Linked DNA regions of Homo sapiens: region 1 is linked to region 2. Evidence: promoter capture Hi-C in 16 types of primary human blood cells and fetal thymus (Javierre and others, 2016). All regions are on one chromosome and are shown on one strand. The core of a region is centred on a gene start or on the middle of the fragment in contact, and the rest is flanking DNA. Distances in the headings are between cores, read along the strand shown.

What was found. Contacts are between HindIII fragments. The CHiCAGO score rates a contact against its expected background, and 5 or more counts as called.
Region 1: a contact is called between a fragment that was not itself captured here and the fragment with the promoter of OR13A1 in region 2, in 1 of 17 cell types (total B cells). The highest score is 6.1, in total B cells.

What each region holds. Positions count from the first base shown.
Region 1 is chr10:45,376,656-45,383,210 of GRCh38, forward strand. It overlaps ALOX5 (arachidonate 5-lipoxygenase), which reads left to right. Exons shown (of 14, transcript NM_000698.5): 2 at 5,828-6,026. Among named protein-coding and RNA genes, the nearest start is that of ALOX5, 5.7 kb to the left of the region's middle. The HindIII fragment of the contact is 543 bases long and covers 1,533-2,075 here.
Region 2 is chr10:45,311,817-45,317,910 of GRCh38, forward strand. It overlaps OR13A1 (olfactory receptor family 13 subfamily A member 1), which reads right to left and starts at 3,792. Exons shown (of 4, transcript NM_001004297.3): 1 at 3,708-3,792. The HindIII fragment of the contact is 10,818 bases long and covers 1,257-6,094 here.

The DNA of each region.
Region 1 (6,555 bases), core at 554-3,053, 63 kb after region 2:
CACAATTTAATCATTTCCAAGTTATTGGCAGGTCAACACCCCCCTCCTCCAGGGCATAGTTCAGTCAAATAATGGACAGGACTGATTTTTTCCTTGATAAAGTGAGTCACAGGTCCCTTGTTATTCTCATCAGAGTTCCGCATAGTGATTCAGTCAGGACTGGGAATCAAGTCCTTCGCAGGTGGGATTATCCTATAAACGGTTGTGTCTTCCTTGGCTCCTCACTGTCTGCTGGAGAAAGCCGGGATCCTACACAGAATGGCCCTGTTTCCAGAGGCTAACCCAAGTCTAGGCAAATTTAACAAGTTGATTTATTTCTTTAACTCTGTAAATTTAAAGTAATTCAGATCGGATACGATAACTGTAACAGATCTGAAGATTTCTGAGAAATCTTAGTTGGCCCATTTCATTCTGTGCTGGTACTTTTAAGAAAGCTAAGGGCAATAGCGTGGTGTTTAATATATGATACTTGAATATGTTCAACAAGTGTAGAAAAGTGTTATAATGATTCATGCTTCTTAAGTCAGTGAGTATTCTTACATTCATGAAAAATTAATTCTAGAATACCTCCTTCTTGTGAATGGGAATATATTAGTGGAGCATAAATATTTCTTTGGTATGACCCTCAATCCGTCTCTCATCTCCCAGTCTCCCCCTCTGAGCCATCTTTTCCCTACATTCTGCCCCCTCTTCTGCCTCCTCTTCCTTCCCCTGCTCCCAGTTCCCTAAATGCCCCCCGTTTCTGCTCTCTACCCTACAACTCTCCCTTCTTTTTTGCTCTGAATTTTCCTCTACACTCTGTCTTCCAGCCACCTCTCAGAGGCCCCTTCTCTGCTCCCTCAATCTCCGGCTCTCTGTCCCACATTTTCCCCCTTCTCTGCCCCTTGGTCTCCCTATCCACTACCCCAATCCCTCTCTCCGTCCCTTGTTTTCCTCAGCTCTTCCCCATAGCCTCCCCCTCTCTCATCCCGAGTCTCTGTTTTGTCTGGCCCCCAATCTTCCTCTCTGCTCTACAGCTTCCTCCTCCCACAGCCCCTCATTAGTCCCCCTCCAAGATGGGTAGTCTGGGGGTGGGGCACACATCCTTGCTTCCGCAGAGAGATCCGTCTCCCTGTCCCAGCAACAGCAGAGATCTGATGAAAGACAGATGAAAACTTTCCTAAAATGCTGATAGAAAGCTCACATGAAAACTGACCAACTGACTCTTTGCCGAAATATTCAAAAGCTTTAAAACTACATATCCAATAAAAAGTTAAAAGCAACAAGCAAAATCAGCAAAGTGGCCCCTTGTGAAATGAGGCCGGTGAGTTGCAGGTTTCCCTTGTTTCTCTCCAGCATCTGCACCACCACGCCACCCACTTCTGTCCCCAGAAACTGTGTCCAGCCTTCCTCCTCCCACGTGTGAATCCCCCGGGGACCCTGCCCTCCCAGTTCCCCACATCTGAAATGTGCTACCCATGCCCATCCTCCTACTCATCTGCCCTCTGAAATCTGATCAGCCCCTAAAAGCTGCCTGAAATACCCTCTTATGAAGCTTTTCCCTGTCCTTCCATGCCACTCCACATTGCCCCTTTACACTCCATCCAGGGTACAAACCAGGGCTCAAAGCTGGGCCTTCTAGCTTCCGGTTCAGGGCTTTTCTCAAGATGTGGCCTTGGGGAACTGTGGGAGGAACCTGGGCTTGGCCATCACACAGGTGTAGGTTCTGATCTTGAGGCCACCATTGCTCTCTGAGCCTCAGTTTCTATCTGTAAAGCAGGATAATCACTCGCTCGGCCATTCCCAGGCCCAGTGCTTCCTGAGGGCCTGTTGGGGGGTGTCCACTGTTGATAGTGCCCACCATAATTCAGTGTGTCACCTGAGAATTTAATGTGTCACAGCAAATAGACAAATATAGCATCAGCCCAGTGTACTTGGCCCAGAGAGGAGGGAGGAAGGTGGCCATTGTAGTTCCACAAACCTTCCGAAGATATTTTGCAGTTTGACACATGTGACCCTGGTATTTTCCTGGAAGGAGGCCTTTATCTGTCATTCTTCCATTAGTGGCCCCTGGGATGTTAGAACCACAGCCATCAAGCTTTGTCTTTTACTCCCTGAGTTGGGTCAAGGCTGGAGCCCTCTGCCCCTTGTTCACCTCTTATCATATTCAGGCTTGAAGCCAGCACCAGGAAAGTGGCTGGGCTGGCCATAGACCAGCCAGACTGCAGGCCTGGCCCCCTCCTGCTGTGGAAGTCCCTGTCAGATGGCAGATGGAGTCCTTGTAAATCTGCCTAGTGATTTCACCCCAAGTGAAACTCAGGGGCTCTCCACCAGGTGCCTGCAGGTGTAGGTAGGGCAGGGGGCCAGGAGTGTCCCAGTCCCCTGTGACTGCACCACAGGTGTGCTGGAGGGTCACCCCACTGTCCACTCCCTCAGAGAAGCTGCTCAGTCTCTTCGTGTGGGTCGTCACCCCCAGGTAGACATCGGGCCCTCCCTGTGGGACCTGCCCAGTCCTGGAATGCCTCCTCAGCCCATCTCCCTCCCCTCTTAGTCCAAGGTACTGGGAGCCTCCCTCCCATGAGAGTGTCCCTGTTAGCTCCTCCCACCCCACCCCAGCTTTCCTGTCATCTATCCCCTGGGGACACCTTCCTCCCTCTCCAGCCCCTCAGAGCCATAGGAAAGCTACTTCCCCTGCAGCAGCCACACTCAGACCAGGCCCGGGCCTCTGGTGGCCGCCCCTCAGTCCTCACCGCACACAGACTTGCTCTGCCTGCCCCACCAGCATTCAGAATGCCTCCCACTCTCCCTCTGTCCTCACAGCCCTGTCTCCAGCCTTTCAGGAGTTCCTTCTGGGCTTTGAGTGAAGGAGTTTGAGGTCACAGGTTCAGTTTCCTCCTCCCATGTGTGCTCCAGTTACTCGGATTGGCACATGTAGTCACGAAGTGGCCGTGACGCAGGGGCCCATGCTAGCTCACAGGCGGTGTGGGGCCTGGTGCCCTGCAACCCCCTGGATTCAGGAAGGGGCACTGGTGGTTCTGATGCACACAACCGGTGGCCTGTGCCTCTGGAGAAAGGAGGCCACCCAGGATGGTGTCATTTCATTTTCTCAATGGTCCTGCAAGTGAGGGGTATCTCCTTTGGGTAGATGAAGAAACAGCTTCAGAGAATGAAGCAATGTGCCCAGGCCATCCAGCTACTTGCCTGAAGCTGGGATGTGAATTCAGAGCTCCAGACCCCAGGGCCCACCGAGCCTTCTACCCCTCACTGCCCTCTCCCCACTCCTCGGTGGGATCAGGAATCTCTGTCTTGGCTCACAACCTGCAGCTAAGGCCTCTGTAAATCCCTGTGGCATGCAGGGCCTGGCGTGGGGCAGGCCCGACGCGTATCCAGTCCTGGGCCACTCAGCCCCCACTCTGCTCCTCCAGATGGGCCCGAGCCCCTGAGATGCTGAGACTCCTGTCCCATCAGAACCTGCCCACCCTGTCCATGATGGGCGAGGCCTTGTGTGTGGCCCTGCTCTCCTGAGGACAAGCTGTGGCAGGAAGGCTTTCTCAGAGGTGGCAGATGAGGCTGATACTCTCCCTGCAGGAGGGGCATTGTCGTGGGGCCGAGGCTGGTCCACATGTGGCTGGACCCAAGACATGTCATCCCACCACATGGGCCTGGCTCCTCTGTCATCAGAAACTGTTCCTAGGGCCTCTGGCCTAGACTACAGAGCACAGGGAGGAAGCTTCCGCTTTCTGACCACAAGCGTCTGGCCTCAGCGTCAGCCACCCCAAACTGCTCACGGTATTCAGAGCCAGGAGGTTTGTGGAAAACACTCAAGTTCCCATTCCTCTTAGGAAGCCCTCCAGGGGTCCTCCTGGCAGCTTGGAGGCAGGGCATGGAATGGGGATGCCTGCGCTCGCACAAAGGATGATACCCCTCGCCCCTTCCACTTTGCCATCATGCTGAGAACTCTAGGTTCTGCCGCCAGGGATAAAGTTCAAGGGTTGATGAATCTGGCTTAGAAAGTGCCTTGCAGGGGCCAGGCACAGTGGCTCATGCCTGTAATCCCAGCACTTTGGGAGACCGAGGCAGGTGGATCACTTGAGGTCAGGAGTTTGAGACCAGCCTGGCCAACATGGTGAAACCCTGTCTCTACTGAAAATACAAAACTTAACCAGATGTGGTGGCAGGTGCCTGTAGTCCCAGCTACTTGGGAGACTGAGGCAGGAGAATCACTTGAACCCTGGAAGTGGAGGTTGCAGTGAGCCGAGATCGAGCCACTGCACTCCAGCCTGAGCAACACAGTGAGACTCCACCTCAAAATAAAAAAGAACATGCCTTGGAGGGCATCGAGTCCGGGGCTTTCCAAACCTGCTGGTCATCAGAATGCGTGATGCAATGCCTGAGCCTCTCATCCCAACTTCCTGTCTGCCATCCATTGCTGCAGAGACAAAAGCCCTCCAGAAGCTATGGCTGTTGCCTCAGAGCCGCCTGTGTCCTGGAAGCAGGAGCCTGGCAGGGAGGGGGCCAAGCAGCCTTGTCCCAGAGGCCTGGGCAGCTGCGCTGTACACAGCCTGGGGTGGTGCCTTCTAGCTGCAAGGCTAGCCTCACCCTGCCACCAGTAATGCCACAGGTGCAGCAGAGCTGCTTGGTCTCACTGTTCTCTGGGCATCACCATGCAGCTGTGAACTGCAAATGTCCCAGGACGACTCGAATCCATGCAAGCTCCCTGTATCTAAGCCTCACCATTTTCACTCACTTATTATCCCCACTGAAAACTGGAAAGAGAGGAAGTGGCTATGATGGAAAGACCTGGGGTGTGACTCCAGCTCTGCTGGCAAGTGGCAGAGGTGGGAGTCACTGAGCCTCGCTGTCTTCATCTGTGGAAGGGGTGGTAACTCCCCTGCACTCCCAGAGTCATTGTGGGGATCCACTGTCAGCAAGCCCATCTCCAGTTGTAAAGGTCTCCCACAAGGCTATCCCATGTGGGGGCAGCTGCGGACCCTCACTGGGCACAGCCTCGCAGGTGCAGGCATGAGCCTGGGCATCTCCCCATCCTCCAGCCTGAGCTAAGTGCAGTCAGCAGGCGTTGCCCTCTGAGCAGCACAGCACCATCCTGGCTCACTGGATTCTCTCTCCTCAAGGGCAGGGCCCAGGATTTGTCCATTTCTTTCACCTGCCTGGGTCGTAGCACTGAGCCTTGTCAGGGGCAGGCCTTCAGTGAATGTCTTGGGTAAATGAATTCAGGAGTTCATTTAAGGTGTTCATGAAGAATCTTGGCTCCATGAACTGTAGTGGAGGCAAAACTCCACCTCTTCCCATTTCAGCTAGGTCTGAGAATCGGCATAAGACAGATTCATGGGCGAAAGCCTACAGATTTCTTTAATACAAGTTGTACGTGGCATGGGAGCCCTCTTAAAAAGATGAAGACCCCAAGAAGCAGTTAGAGTCAATCCCCCTTAGATACTGCATTGAATGAATCATCGTGAGATGTGATAAGGCCAAGGGGCTTGGGCTAGGGCAGGTAACTGGGCAGGGAAGTGACTCGGGAGGTAAGCGTTCATTGTACAAGATCTGTTTGTATGGATTTCCTTTGGCTTCAACTTCCCAACCTTGATGAAAAGAGTGTTACTTTCCTTTTGGTATAGTGAGGACATCTTTCATAGGGGACTTTCATCTCCTGCTTCTAAGAAACAGCACGAATGTCAGAGTATCTTGCACCTGCTGTTTTTTTAAGTGCTTTTCATTCAACGTAGTCCCTGTGCCACAGCAGCATACCTTGGGGTGACAAATTCTTAACACCTCCAGAACAAAGGCTCAGGAGACCACGCATGGCCTGATTGCCTGTTCTCCTTCCCAGGTGGATTCATACGACGTGACTGTGGACGAGGAACTGGGCGAGATCCAGCTGGTCAGAATCGAGAAGCGCAAGTACTGGCTGAATGACGACTGGTACCTGAAGTACATCACGCTGAAGACGCCCCACGGGGACTACATCGAGTTCCCCTGCTACCGCTGGATCACCGGCGATGTCGAGGTTGTCCTGAGGGATGGACGCGGTGAGCAGCTCAGGCCCCTTCTGCCCCGGGCTTCCCAAGAACCGAAAGTTCTTCCTGTCCTCAAAGCACTGTAGTCATAGGAGGAATGACACTGCTGTGCAGGGGCGGGAAGTGGGAGGGCTCTGCCCTGTGCCTCGACACACCTGCAGGAGGCATGACTTTCCTTGGGATTCTTACAAGCCCCTGAGGGTGGAGCGGGTGGCCCCAGGCCTCACTGTCGTCATGTCCTCACTCTGCGCTACAGTTCTACAGGGGAGGGTTGTGCCCCTCTTTTTGTCAGTGGGTAACTAGGGTCCATACAGGCAGATACCTATGGGACATGCCCCTGGATGGGCACTTCTCTAGTTGCCAGGGTGTGGCATCACTTTCTAGTTCATAGCCTGCCCTCCGTGAGATCACAGTAGGGCTCAGGCAAGCTCAGGGTGCCCCATGTGGGCCTAGGGAGGGAAGGGGTGGACAAGGAGCACCCCAAGTGCCAGCTCTGAGGAGCCATGGACAAGCCTGCAAATCACAGTTACCAGTTCTTCAA
Region 2 (6,094 bases), core at 2,542-5,041:
CTGAACCTAAGGTAAAAGTTGTAATAAAATAAAATAGTTGTCATAACTATATTTCATATGCTCAAGAAGCTAGAGAAAAGACTTAGCATATCAAATAGAGACAAAGAAGATATAAAAAGATGAACAATTTCTAGAGATGAAAACTACAATGTCTGAAATTAATAATACATTGGATGAGATTAACAGTGGATTAGACATTGCAAAAAAATTAGCAAATTAGGGAAAAGTATAATAAACCTGCCCAAATGAAATAGAAGTGGAAAAATAAACATAAGAACTGTAAGTGAGCTGTAAGACAACCTCAAATAGCCTAATATACATATAATTAGACCCCATAAGGGCATGAGAAATGGGAGAAGAACAGAAAAAAATTTGAATGAATAATGGCTACAATTTTTCTAAATGTAATGAAAAATATAAACCTACAGACTTAATAAGCTCAATGAACCCCAAGCACAATAAATATGAAGAAACTCACACCAAGCCACATGATCAAAATCAATAATAAAAATAAAATCTTAAAAACAGGCAGAGTAAAAAGGCACATTAAGTACAAAGACACAAAGATAAGAATTACAGCAGAGTTTCTATACAATCAGTACAAGCAAGAAGACAGTAGAGAAACACTAAACAGTACTGAAAGAAAAAAACTGTCAATGTAGAATTTTACACTCACTAAAAATACCTTCTGAAAATGAAGAAAAAACATTTCACAAATATAAAAGTTAAAGGAATTCATCATCAGAAGATATGAACAAAAAAAAAATGTTAAAGAAAACCCAGAGACTCACAGTGAGACACACTATAATCAAACTCTCAAAAGTCAAAGACAAAGAGACAATCTTGAAAGCAGCAAAAGAAAGTAACTTGTCATGTAAAAGGAAGCCTTTATAAAATTATCAGTGGATTTATCAACAGAAACCTTGCAGGCCAGAAGGCAGGGGGATAATATATTCAAAGAGCTGAAAGAAAAGAAAATTTCAACCAAAAATATTATATCCAGCAAAACCATCCTTCAAACATAAAGGAAAAATCAGCCTTTCCAGGATGAACAAAAACTGGGGAGTTCATTACCACTGGACCTGCTGTAGTATCTTGCAAGTTGAAACAAAAGGATGCTAAATAGTAACATGAAGTCTTATGAAAATATAAAGCTCTCCAGTAAAGATAAATATATGGACATATATAGAGACTGTACTATGCAGTTTTGGTACATAAATGCACTTTTAATTCTTGTATAGAATTTACAAGACAAAAGCTTAAAAATAACTATAAAACTGTGTTAATGAATACATTACATATGAAGATGTAACTTGTGACATAAGTAACCTAAGGTGAGGGTAGGAGCTTTGAAGAAATAGTTTTTGTACACAGTCGAAGTTATTCTCTTAACAGTTTAAAATAGCTTGTTAACACTTTAAGATGTTTTTTATAATTCTTATGGTAACCATAAAAAAATCTATAGAATACACACAAAAGGAAACAGGAAGGGAATCAAAATGTCACCACAAAAAAAAATCGACAAAACCCAAAAGAGGTCAGTAAGAGAAGGAATAAAAAACAAAATTTACAAAACATACAGGAAACAACAAAATGGCAAGTGTAGGTCCTTCCCTATCAGTAATTACTTTAAATGTAAATGGATTAAACTCCTGAATCAAAAGATATAGACTGGAAAATGGATTTGTAAAAAGGATCCAACTTTATCCTGTCATTTAGGTCTAAGAAACAAATATGCTTAAAATGAAAAAAAGGAAAAGTAAATGCCATGCAAATGGTAAATAAAAGCAAGCAGAAGTGACTATACTACTATCCAACAAAATAGACTTAAAGTCAAAAATAGTCACAAGACAAAAAAATGGATATTATATAACAAAAAGTCAATTCAGCAGAAAGATATAACAATTACAAATATATATACCTCTAATACCAGAGCTCCTAAATATCTGAAGCAAACATTGACAGATCAGAGAGGAAACATAAACAGCATAATAATGGTAGGCGACTTCAATTCCTCACTTACAATAATGGCTAGAACAACAAGACAGAAAATCGATAAGGAAATACAGTACTTGAACAACACTATAAATAGTGCTAACAAACATGTGCAGAACATTCCACCCAATAAAATCAGAATAGTATTTTTCTCAAGTTTACATGGAATATTCCCAAAGATAAATCACATGTTATACCACAAAAAAACTTGTAACAAATTTTAAAAGATTGAAATTATACAAAATATCTATTTTGATGAAAATGACATAAAACTAGACATCAGTAGCAGAAGGAAAACAAAAAATTCACAAATATGTGAAAATTAAACAACACAGTTTTCAACAAGCAATGGGTCAAAAAAGAAATCACAAGGGAAGTTAGAAAATATCTTGAGATAAAGGAAAATAAAAATACAATGTACCAAAATGTGTAAGATGCAGCAGAAGCAGTGCTAACAGAGAATTTTATAGCTATAAATATGTGCATTATAAAAGGAAGAAAGTGGCTAGGCATGGTGGGTCATGCCTGCAATCCCAGCACTTTGACAGGCTGAGGGAGGAGAACTTCTGGAGGCCAGGAATTTGAGACCAGCCTGGGCAACAAAGCAAGACCCCATCTCCACAACTTAAGAAAAAAAAAAAAAGAAGTAGAAGAAAGTTTGCAAATCAACAACCTAACTTTATACCTCAGGAAACTAGGAGAGAAAAAAAACTACACCCAAAGCTAGCAGAAGGAGGAAAATCCTAAAGATTAGATTAAATCAGAGATAAATGAAATATAGAATATAAAAACAATAGAAAAAAATCAACAAAACTAAGAGGTGGTTTTTGAAAACACCAACAAAATTAACAAATGCTTAGCTAGATTAACTAAGGAAAAAAGATTCAACTAATAAATCAGAAATAAAAAAGAGAACATTAGAACCCATGCCATAGAAATCAAAAGGATTATAAGAAAATACCATCAACAGTTAATTATATGTCAACAAATTGGATAATTTAGAAGTGCATAAATTTCTAGAAATATACAACCTAATAAGAGTGAATCATGAAGAAGTAGAAAAAACGAACAGACTTATAACTACGAAGGAGATTAAACTGGTTCAAAAACCTCCAAACAAACAACAGCCCAGAACCGGATGACTACCAAACATTTAAGGAAGAATTAGAACCAATGTTTCTCAAAGTCATTTACAAAAATGAATATAAAAAACACTTCAAAGCTCATTATATGAGGCCAGTATTACCCTGATTTCAAAGTCAAACAAAGACATTACATGAAAAGAAAACTACAGACCAATATTTGTGATGATCAGGTTGGCTTTATTCCTGGAATGCAAGAATGATAGAACATGTGGCAGGGTGTGCTGGCTCATGCCTGTAATCCCAGCACTTTGGGAGGCTGAGACAGGAGAATCCCTTGAACCCAGGAGGCAAATGTTGCAGTGAGCTGAGGTCATGCCACTGCACTCCAGCCAGAATGACAGAATGAGATTTCATCTCAAAAAAAAAGAATAATACAACATGCAAAAATCAATGTAATACACTATAGTAATAGAATAAAGGACAAAACAGCATGATCATTTATATTGATGTAGAAAAAATGTTTAACAAAATTTAACACCTTTTATCACGAAAACACTCAGCAAACTAGGAATAGAAGGAAAATAACATAATAAAGGCCATATATGAAAAATCCACAGGTAAACTTACACTCAATGGTAAAAGATTCAAACTTTTCTTCTGGATTAGGAACAAGACAAGTATACTCTGTCTCTTCGCTTCTATTCAATATAGTATTTGAATTTCCAAGCAGACCAATTAGGAAAAAAAAATTAAGCAAGAAAAGACATCCAAAGAATAAAAGAAAAAAGTAAAATTATCTCTGCTCACAGATGACTTGATCCTATATGCATAAAATCCTAGACTCCTGCATAAAATCTAGAAAACTGTTAGATGCATATATGCATAAAATCCAGAAAACTGTTGGAACTATTAAACAAATTCTGGAAAGTTGCAGGATCCAAAATCGACACACAAAAATCAGTTGCCTTTCTATAAATTAACTATAAACAATCCAAAGGTAATTAAGAAAATAATTTAATTACAATACCATCAAAAATAGTAAAATACTTAGGAATAAACTTAGCCAGGGAAATAAAAGGCTTGTACACTGAAAACTACAAAACAGTACTGAAAGAAGTCACAAATAAATGTAAAGACATTGGTATTCATGGATTGGAAGATTTAATGTTAAGATCTCCAAAATATCAGATGTATTCCCCAAATCTGTACAACATTATGTATTAATTTGAAAAGTCAATAGAACCCAAAGCAGTCTACAAATTATATGTAATCCCTATCAAAATCTAAGCTGCATTTTTTGAAAAAAGAGAAAAATTTATCTAAATATTCATATATACTCTGACTAGACAATCTTGAAAACTAACTGAGTTGAAGGTCTCATGCTCCGTGATCTCAAAACATGTTACAAGACTACAGTAATTAAAACAGCATGACACTGGCTTAAAGAGAGACATATAGACCAATGGAATAGAATAAAGAACCCATTAAAAGAAAACTCCACATATATGGTCAAATAATATTTACAGCATTCCAGATCCGCTCAATGAGGGAAGAACATTCTCTTCAACAAACAGTGTTGGGAAACTTGGATATCCACACATGAAAGAGTGAAGTTGAAACTTTGTCTTATGCCATATACAAGAATTAACTCAAAATGGATTTAAAACTTAAATGGAAGATCTAAAACTATAAAACTCTTAGAATAAGGGGATATGGCAATTATTTTTTAATATGACACCAAAAGTACAGACAACAAAAGAAAAAATAGACAATTGGGACTACATCAAACTTTTTAAAACTTTTATGCATTAAAGGACATAACAATGTTAAAAAAAACTTGTGGATGGAAGAAAATATTAGTAAATTATATATCTGATAAAGAGTTAATATCCAGAATATATAAATAATTTCTACAACACAATATTTAAAAATAATATGATTTTAAAATGGCAAAAGGATTTGAATAGACATTTCTTTTAAAATTATATATGAATGGGCAAAAAACATAAGAAAAAATGCTCAGCATCCAAACTGGAAAGGAAATCATTAGAGAAATGTAAATCAAAACCACAATGTAATATCTCCTCACAAAAATTGAGTGGTTTACTATTAAGAAAAAGAAATATTAGATAGGATGCAGTTGATAGCAAACAGCTTAAAAGCAACGTGACCCCAGATACTAACTCAAAGCCACACAAAAAACAAAAAGCTCTGGCAAAGACATTTATTTATATTTTTATTTATGTATTTATTGAGGGTTTTGCTGTTTTGTTGTTGTTGTTGTTTACTGTTTTATTTTTGCTTTTTCAACTTTTATTTTAGATTCAGAGGGCACTTGTGCAAGTTTGTAACCTGGGTATATTGTGTGATGTTGAGGTTTGGGGTATGAATGGTCCCATTACCCAGATACTGAGAATAGTACTCAACAGTTTTTCAACACTTTCTCCCTTCCCTCCTTCACCACCCCAATAGTCCCCAGTGTCTATTGTTGCTATCTTTATGTCCATCAGTACCCAGTGTTTACCTCCCCCTTATGAGTGAGAATATGTGGTATTTGATTTTCTGTTTCTGTATTTGTTTGCCTAGGATAAAGTCCTCTAGCCAAATCCATGTTGCTGCAAATGACATGATTTTCTTCATTTTCTTTTATTTTTTATTTTTATTTATTTTTTTTTATTATTATACTTTAAGTTTTAGGGTACATGTGCACAACGTGCAGGTCAGTTACATATGTATACATGTGCCATGTTGGTGTGCTGCACCCATTAACTCGTCATTTAGCATTAGGTATATCTCCTAATGCTATCCCTCCCCCAGCCCCCCACCCCACAACAGTGCCCAGTGTGTGATGTTCCCCTTCCTGTGTCCATGTGTTCTCATTGTTCAATTCCCACCTATGAGTGAGAACATGAGGTGTTTGGTTTTTTGTCCTTGCAATAGTTTGCTGAGAATGATAGTTTCCAGCTTCATCCATGTCCCTACAAAGGACATGAACTCATCATTTTTTATGGCTG